Linked DNA regions of Homo sapiens: region 1 is linked to region 2. Evidence: promoter capture Hi-C in 16 types of primary human blood cells and fetal thymus (Javierre and others, 2016). All regions are on one chromosome and are shown on one strand. The core of a region is centred on a gene start or on the middle of the fragment in contact, and the rest is flanking DNA. Distances in the headings are between cores, read along the strand shown. Region 1 overlaps USP3 (ubiquitin specific peptidase 3). Region 2 holds the start of APH1B (aph-1B gamma-secretase subunit).

Region 1 (4,346 bases), core at 654-3,153, 300 kb after region 2:
AGGCTGACCCAGGAGAATAGCTTGAACCAGGGAGTCAGAGGTTGCAGTGAGCTGAAATCGTGCAACCGCACTCCAGCCTGGTGACAGAGCGAGACTCCGTCTCAAAATAAATAAATAAAATAATAAGAAAAATTAACTGGGCATGGTGGTATATGCCTATAATCCCAGCTTCTTGGGAGGCTTAGGCAAGGAGGATCACTTGAGCCCAGGAGTTGGAGGCTGCATTGAGCCTGCACTGCTCCTGTACTCTAGGCCTGGGTGAGAGAGTGAGACCCTGCCTCAAAAAAAAAAAAAAAAAAGTCCAAATAGATACTGATAAAATCCCAAATATATTACTGATTAAAAGGAGAAGAAAGGGGTGGGTGCAGTGTAGTCCCAGCACTTTGGGAGGCCAAGACGGGCAGATCACTTGAGGCTAGGAGTTCGAGACCAGCCCTGGCCAACATGGAGAAACCCCATCTCTACTAAAAATACAAAAATTAGCCAGGTACGGTGGCATGTGCCTGTAGTCCCAGCTCCTCGGGAGGCCAAGGCAGAATAATGGCTTGAACCGGGGAGGGAGGTTGCAGTGAGCCGAGATCGTGCCACTGCACTCCAGCCTGGACAACACAGTGACACTCTGTCTCAAAAACAAAGAAAAGAAAAAACTTTTATTAGGAATAGAAATGTTAACTTGGCCAGGCGTGGTGGCTGAAGCCTGTAATCCCAGCACTTTGGGAGGCCGAGGCGGGTGGATCACGAGGTCAGGAGATAGAGACCATCCTGGCTAACACGGTGAAACCCCGTCTCTACTAAAAATACAAAAAAAAAAAAAATTAGCTGGGCATGGTGGCAGGCATCTGTAGTCCCACCTACTCAGGAGGCTGAGGCAGGAGAATGGTGTGAACCCGGGAGGCAGAGCTTGCAGTGAGCCGAGACGGCGCCACTGCACTCTAGCCTGGGCGACAGAGCAAGACTCCGTCTCAGAAAAAAAAAAAAAAAGAAGAAAAAAAAAAGAAATGTTAACTTGATGACAATTATTCATTAAAAGCTATCAGTGATCATCATAGTTAATGGTGAAGCACTGATGATTTTCCAGTAAGGCCAGGAATAAGCCAGGAGGCCTACTGAAATATTGCTCAGATGTCTTCTGGAGGAACAAGGCAATAAACTAGGAAAAGAAATAAGAATAAATTATAGAATGACCAAATTATTAACATTTGCAGGCAGATTGATTATATACCTAGAACATTTCAGGATAATCAGTTGGAAAATTACGAGAAATATTAACAACTATTGCCATGGAGAGTGAGACTAGGCAGGAGGACACCTGCTTTTCTAGAAGCCCTCAATTTTTAAAAAATCAAACACAAGTAATACTTTGATAAATATATTATAAACATGGAGCTAAAAAGTTCAGGCAAAAAGCCAGCTGGCTTTCTGTATGTAGCAAAATAATCTATTCACAGTAGCAATAAAAACTCAAAAGTACTTAATAAATTTAATAAGGAATATGCAATACTTTAATAAAACATTATAAAAGGACAGATAAAGCCTGAATAAAAAGAGCCACATCATATTCTTGGATGGGAAGACCCAATATGGTAGAAATGTCCATTTTCTCCCAAATTACTCCCTACATTTATTCTGATTTATTCAAAAATTCCTCTGTACGCAGAAATTCTCAAGAAGAGCTAAAGAAGTTTCTAAAATGAAAGTAAGGTAGAAACATAGCAGTGGGATAGGAAATGTCCTAGAACTACTAATATAGAGCAGGTGCTAATGTAAAATATTTATGCAAATTTACAATATGCCAAAGAATGTCAAATCAGTGGGACGAATAAGAAATTAGGCAATAAATGGTGTTAGTGTAAATGAAAATTAATTTGGGAAAACATTAATTTCCTCCCTGCCTCATATCCTTTCCCTGATTAATTTGAGGTTTCAATATTTAAATGTGAAACATAAAACCACAGGACACTATAGGAAAGCATCTTTATTATGATCTTGTCATAGGGGAGAGCTTTCTAAGCCAGAACCTATAATGGGAAACGTTTCATAAATTTAATTGAGCAATGGTAAAAGACCATAAACAAAGTGGAAAAGAGATGATAAACTTGAGACAAATATTTGGACATATATGAAAAAGGTGACTTGGGCAGAGTACATGAGTAAGATATAAATGATCATTATAACATCTAAAAAGTGTTAATCCTCACTTATATTCAAGAAAATGTAAGTAAAACAAGATTGGTGAAAAGGGTAAAGATGGATGTCAGTGGAAGAGGACACTCGTGTTGTTGTTATAAGTCTAAATTGGCATGGTTGTTTTTGGAGGTAGTGATCACCATTTTTAATAGGCATTTCCTTAGACATACTAATTTCACTTACAAGGGTGGACAATAGTATGTGTAAAAGATTTTAAACACTTTGTTATTGAAAAAAATCAAACAATTTAAATGTCCACCAGTAGGGCACTGGTTTAATAAATTGCATTATGTGGCAATTAAGAAAGATAAAGTTGACCAGTAACTATGCCATAGAAACATAGCTACAAAATATTGTGTAGTAAAAAACTGTCCATGGAAATATGTGTGTGGAATAATTCCATTTGTGTAAGATAAAAAACATTTATATGAGTGTTAAAATTCTTAAACAGCATACACTGTGCTGTTCACAGTGATTATCTCAGGGAAGTGGGATTCAGGAGGGAAATGGAACTATGAATTATTTTTTTCATTTGTTTTAACCGATGTGTGTCACCTTTATAATACCTATTTGGGGGATAGTAAAAAATGCATATTAACTTAATGTATACTTCCAAACTACTGCTTTGCTAAATTAAATTTATATAGTATATAAAGTTGACCTAATAACTAACTTCAACAAACCAGCTTTATTTCCTGCTTTCCATAGAGATGCTGTTTTAACAGTTTATATCATGTGGAAGACTGACGGTTGTGAAATACATGCCCTGAAATCTTTGAGAATCTTAAGAGTTTCAGAAAGTGGTGCATATATATATGAATATATAATATATATATGAATATATAATATATATGCATATATACTTATTTTAATATTTATATAAATATATATTTTTTCTTTTAGGAAATGCAGTAAAGTACAAATGAAATATTAAGCAGCTTCCTCAGATCCTTACTGAAATGTGAACACTGGATAGCTAGTAGACTCTTTTTGAGATGGAGTCTTGCTCTGTCACCCAGGCTGGAGTGCAGTGGCACAATCTTGGCTCACTGCAACCTCCACTTCCCAGGTTCAAGCGATTCTCCTGCCTCAGCCTCCCGAGTAGCTGGGATTGCAGGCACGAGCCACCATGCCCAGCTAATTTTTGTACTTAATAGAGATGGGGTTCACCATGTTGGCCAGGCTGGTCTCAGACTCCTGACCTCGAGTGATCTGCCTGCCTCGGCCTCCCAAAATGCTGGGATGACAGGCGTGAGCCACCGTGCCTGGCTGCTAATAGACTCTTTACAGGCCATATAATTCACTTCCACATGTGAGCTCTGAGGTGAAATTCACACTCATGCTGCTGCAAAATATTAAACTGAGGTACATTTCAGGGTCATTCAGGCTTTTCAAATAGTTAAAATAGCAGTTGCCAAATCTGTGAATGTTAAGGGTATGTTGTATCTAGATAGTCTTCCCCTTAAAGAAATATATTTCCATGTGTTTATATGTATGTTTGTGTTGGTTTTTGTGTGTGTGTGTGTGTGTGTGTGTGTGTGTGTGTGTGTGTGTGTGTGTGTGTGTTTAGATGGAGTCTTGCTCTGTTGCCCAGGCTAGAGTGCAGCGGTGCAATCTTGGCTCACTGCAACCTCTGCCTCCGGGTTCAAGCGATTCTTCTGCCTAAGCCTCCTGAGTAGCTGGGACTACAGGTGTGCAGCCACCACACCCGGCTAATTTTTTTTTTTTTTTTTTTTTTGGATTTTTGGTATAGACAGGGTTTCACCATATTGGTCTGGTCTCAAACTCCTGACCTCATGATCCACCTGCCTCGGCCTCCCAAAGTGCTGGGATTACAGGTGTGAGCCACTGTGCCCGGCCCATATGTTTGTTTTTTAAAAGACAGGGTCTCACTCTGTTGCCCAGGCTAGAGTGCAGTGGTGGGATCATGGCTCACTGCAGCTTCAACCTCTTAGTCTGAGGTGATCCTCCCACCTCAGTCTCCTGGGACTACAGGCACATGCTGCAATGCTTGTGTTTTTTGTATTTTTTGTAGACACAGGGTTTCACCCTTTTGCCCAGGCTGGTCTTGAATTCCTAGGCTCAAATGATCCTCCACCTCAGCCTCCCAAAGTGCTGGGATTACAGGCGTGAGCCACTATGCCTGGCCTGTATGTTTT
Region 2 (4,477 bases), core at 1,295-3,794:
GCAGGGTTTCACCATGTTGGCCAGGCTGGTCTCAAACTCCTGACCTCAAGTGATCCGCCTGCCTCAGCCTCCCAAAGTGCTGGGATTACAGGCGTGAGCCACTGTGCATGGCTACTTAACCTCTCGACAGCCCTTCTTTCTGAAATGTTTTCCCCTTGGCTTCCACAGCACCACATTCCCCCAGTTTTCTTGTTACCCTCTTGGCCACTCCTTTTCAGTTTCTTATGAGGTTCCTCTTCTCCTCATACCTTTAATGTTGGTGTTCTGACATAGGCCTTGTTCTGGCTTTACTAGCTATCTAGGTAATTCTATTCTATATACTCTCACGGCTTCAGGTATTCTGGTCTCAGCTCTGATGTTCAGTCCATTTCTCTCCTGATCCTGTATATGTAGTTGCCTACTGAACACCTCCATTTGGAGTGCTACAAGTATCTCAGTCTCAAGGCATCCAAAATGAAGGCCAGGCACGGTGGCTCATGCCTGTAATCCCAGCACTTTGGGAGGCCGAGGTGGGCAAGTCACTTGAGGCCAGGAGTTCGAGACTGGCCTGGCCAACATTGTTCACACTGTCTCTACTAAAATACGAAAATAACCCAGGCATGGTGGCGCGTGCCTATAGTCCCAGCTACTCTGGAGGCTGAGGCAGGATAATTGCTTGAACTCGGGAGGCAGAGGTTGCAGTGAGCTGAGATCACACCACTGCACTCCAGCCTGGGCGACAGAGTGAGACTATGTCTCCAAAACAGTAACAACAAAATAACAAAATGGTACTCATTATCGTGTCTACTTTGCCATATTCTCTCCTCCTCCTGTCTCCACAGCATCCACTTAAGCCCGAACCCTCTAGAAGCCCTCATCCTTGACTCTTCCCCCATCTCACTCTATGTAGCTCATTAGTCACTAAATTCTGTTTGTACAATTCCTAAACTTCTATTAAATTTGTCTGCTTCCCTCCAGAGTCCTGCTAATTCCCTGAATCAGGCCACTGCCATCTCATGCCTGCGTTGCACTGAGGACCTCCAGTCTGGAAGCTCATTTTCCATATCTTTACAAAGCAGATCTATCACTCTGAACTGTTGTCTCGACCCGAGTTTTGATAGGTATTGTGCTGGGATCTGACCATTCAAAATACAATCACTGGAATCTGAAGAAGTATTCTGTGGGAGTGAATGGAAATATATATGACTTTTAAATGGGCAAAGGTAATGTTTTTCTGTAAGAATTAAATACCTGCAGTTGTATTATTTGAAGGTGCATTTTCAGGGGCGAGCTGCAAAACATCTGTCAGGTCCCAACATTTGTCTACTGGTGTTTTTTTAAATGTGGATTGCCAAAATCTTTATTCATGATGGACATTATGTAGGAGTGGTTAATACTTACATAGCACTTACCTGTGTCAGGCACACTGATCAAAATAACCGACGAAGTATTATTCAACATAAAGAAAAATCTAACTTGGATGTGAATGATCAGAGAACTTAAGTTTTAATTTTTAAACCTTTCAGAAATTGTTAATATAGATGTTTATAACTTCCACCTTTTAAATTATTTCACTTATTGAACAGATATTAGTGAACTTCTAGGTGCTGAGGAAACAACAAAGAGCAAAGCAAAGTCCCTGTCCCCCAGGAGTTCGCGTTTTAACGGGGAAGAAAAATAAGCAAGTGAAATGGACGACTGTGAGAAGACGGAGCAGGGAGATGTTACTATTGCTTGTAGGGTGGTCACAGAATGCCTGCAAAAACAACCCTTTTGAAGAATTGGGAAAAAAATAAAAACCATTTGGCTGAAACAGCCCTGAGAAGGGCAGCTTCTTCCACCACTCTTTCATCATTTTACCATCTGTGGGTTATCCCCGGGGTCACTGCTATCCCAGCCTAGGTTTTATACAGGATGGAGTACGAAGTTCCCGCAACTATCCAAACGGTAAAATGTGCTTAAAAAAAAAAAAAAACCTATTTAAAAAGGAATCCTGCTTGTTCCTGCGCTACATTTTTGTTTAGTCTCTTTGGTTGACTTGGAATCTCTGCCTGTTCTCGGTGCATGCGGCTCGAAGGTGGGCTAGGGAGCTTCCCTTCTCTTAACCACCTCGCGGCCGGCACTGGAACCCGATCGGAGTGTATCTGTGGGGCTGCGGCGATGGCTGGGGCCCTAACGTCGCCGAGGACGCCCGCCTCGGGAGCAGGAGCTGCGGCGTGGCCCTGGCGCTTCCGGACACCCGGTAGGGCGGAGGGCCCAACGGTGGGGTCCGCGCTCACCGCCTTGAGCCCGCCCCTGCGCCCGGCGCCCTCAGCCCACGCCCCGCCCAGTCCCCCAGGCCCTAGCGTTTACCCCCACGCCCCGCCTCGCCCCGCGACCCACGTACCCCGCCTCCGAGCCCCGCCCCCGCCCCCACGTGCCCCGCCCCCGAGCCCCGCCCCCGTCCCCGTGCCTGCCCATGAGCCGCGCCCCGCCCCCCGCGTCCCGCTTAGCCCCCCACCCCGAGCCCCACCCACCGAACCCCGCCCGCGCCGGGAGCATCTCGCGTCCCCAACGGGCCCCCGGGTCGGTTTCCGCGGTGGCCATGACTGCGGCCGTGTTCTTCGGCTGCGCCTTCATTGCCTTCGGGCCTGCGCTCGCCCTTTATGTCTTCACCATCGCCACCGAGCCGTTGCGTATCATCTTCCTCATCGCCGGGTGAGGCGGTCGCGTCGGGAAACCCGGACGCCGGGGCTCCCCTCCCCCGCTGGGGTTACCCGCGACCCTCGGCGCCCCCACCGCGCGGCTCGACCTTGTTGCGTTTCAGACGGGAGGAGGGTTGAGAGGGGGAGAGCGGAGATCCGGCTCCCCAAAGGCGCCTCGCCCTCTTAGGAAGAAGCGCACACTGGGGGTCAGGGCCTTTTGCCTGGGGCTCATGGGTGGGGTTTAGTGATCCGTGAAGCTACTAAAGTTGTATAAAAAAATTATGGATAAGTTCATATATGCATCCTTCATTTTCTGGAGGGGGAGTCCCTAATTTCCCTCAGATTCTCAAAGGCATGTGTAATCCCCAAAGGGTTAAAAACCATTGGCGTTTAGGATAGTAGTGCGCGACTTCCGCCTATTAGAATCACCTGTGGCCAGGTGCTTTAAAACATGCCGATGCCCACCCCCACCCCGATCCATTGAATCAGAATGTCTAGGGGATGGGATTCGGGCTTCAGAAAAAAAAAAAAAAATTTAAGCTCCTTTTGGATGGTTCCGTTGTGCAGCCGAAGGGTGGAAACCTGTAAAAACACCGAAGCACCTGACTGTGCGTCTCCTTCTGGGAGCTTGGTAAATACCGGACTCTGGTGTCCCATCGCAGTCATCACCTGCCTCTTACTTGCACATACCACATCCCCCCTCCTCTGATGAGTCTCTCTTGGCACCAGACTAGGCCAATGATTCCCGCTTTTCTGCGTTTCTTCACCTCCCACAAACGTATTGAAAGTGCTTCGCTGCATGTCATTTTAAAAATAATAGAGATTTGGGAAGGGTCTGTAAAGCTTGCTATAATCATTAGAATCCCCAGGGGTGCTGTAAGACCTGGAGGGCTTGGATACTGATCCAGATCAGAACACAGGTTTTCAAGTTGAATTTTATACCAGTCACTTTATTAATAGAGATGTAGATATTTTTCTGGAAAAGATACTCATCTTTGCAGATATCTGATCAGTAAATCCATAATTTCTTGTAAGTTTTAAGAATATGAAAATTGCAGTAATCAGGGTTGTGTATTTTCTTGTTTTGGCTCATCAATGGGCAGAGCATTGATTAGAAAGAGTAGCAAATAACCAAGTTTCTAGCTAGATAGTCCTTGGCAGATAGAGTCTGCAGATGTACTTGCAAGTAGCAGGGTCATTGAAAAAAGTAATTGTTGGGAAACCTCAGCCTTCCTCTTGGACACGTTTGTCTCACCAAGGAAAATGCACCGTTAAGAACAACTGATCAGAGTATCACTTTATGAGGACTTTCTTTTCCTTATTGAAACGTCAAGAAATCTCTTCCTTCTCAAGCAGGTTTTTTTTTTTTTCCTGCTTTTAAACATTATTAATCCTGTACTGATGTTCACTTGTAACTTTTTTTCCCGTATTTTTCAGAGCTTTCTTCTGGTTGGTGTCTCTACTGATTTCGTCCCTTGTTTGGTTCATGGCAAGAGTCATTATTGACAACAAAGATGGACCAACACAGAAATATCTGCTGATCTTTGGAGCGTTTGTCTCTGTCTATATCCAAGAAATGTTCCGATTTGCATATTATAAACTCTTAAAGTAAGTTAAATACCTGCCTTACCTTTTTTTTCCCCAGTTAGATTTTAGTTATGATTTGGTCATTTGAAACGTGAATATAGTATTGTATCTATGCCCTCCTACATAGTACTAAGCCAAGAGATTGGTACATTTCCAGCCTGAAAATCTTGAGTGTTCTTTTATCTTGTGGAAATTTCTTATTTCCTTCCTTTCTTCCTTTATTCAAA

The links. The method cuts DNA at HindIII sites, captures the fragments that hold promoters and counts their contacts. A CHiCAGO score of 5 or more calls a contact.
Region 1: a contact is called between a fragment that was not itself captured here and the fragment with the promoter of APH1B in region 2, in 1 of 17 cell types (neutrophils). The highest score is 7.4, in neutrophils.

Annotation. Positions count from the first base shown.
Region 1 is chr15:63,577,648-63,581,993 of GRCh38, forward strand. The region is part of intron 11 of USP3 (ubiquitin specific peptidase 3); the gene reads left to right. Among named protein-coding and RNA genes, the nearest start is that of FBXL22, 18 kb to the right of the region's middle. The HindIII fragment of the contact is 5,059 bases long and covers 1-4,346 here.
Region 2 is chr15:63,275,061-63,279,537 of GRCh38, forward strand. It overlaps APH1B (aph-1B gamma-secretase subunit), which reads left to right and starts at 2,545. Exons shown (of 6, transcript NM_031301.4): 1 at 2,545-2,676; 2 at 4,101-4,271. The coding sequence starts at 2,564. LOC124903504 (a long non-coding RNA gene) reads left to right here and starts at 46. Exons shown (of 2, transcript XR_007064674.1): 1 at 46-302; 2 at 958-1,792. RefSeq lists silencers at 2,072-2,491, 2,572-2,851. The HindIII fragment of the contact is 9,433 bases long and covers 1-3,504 here.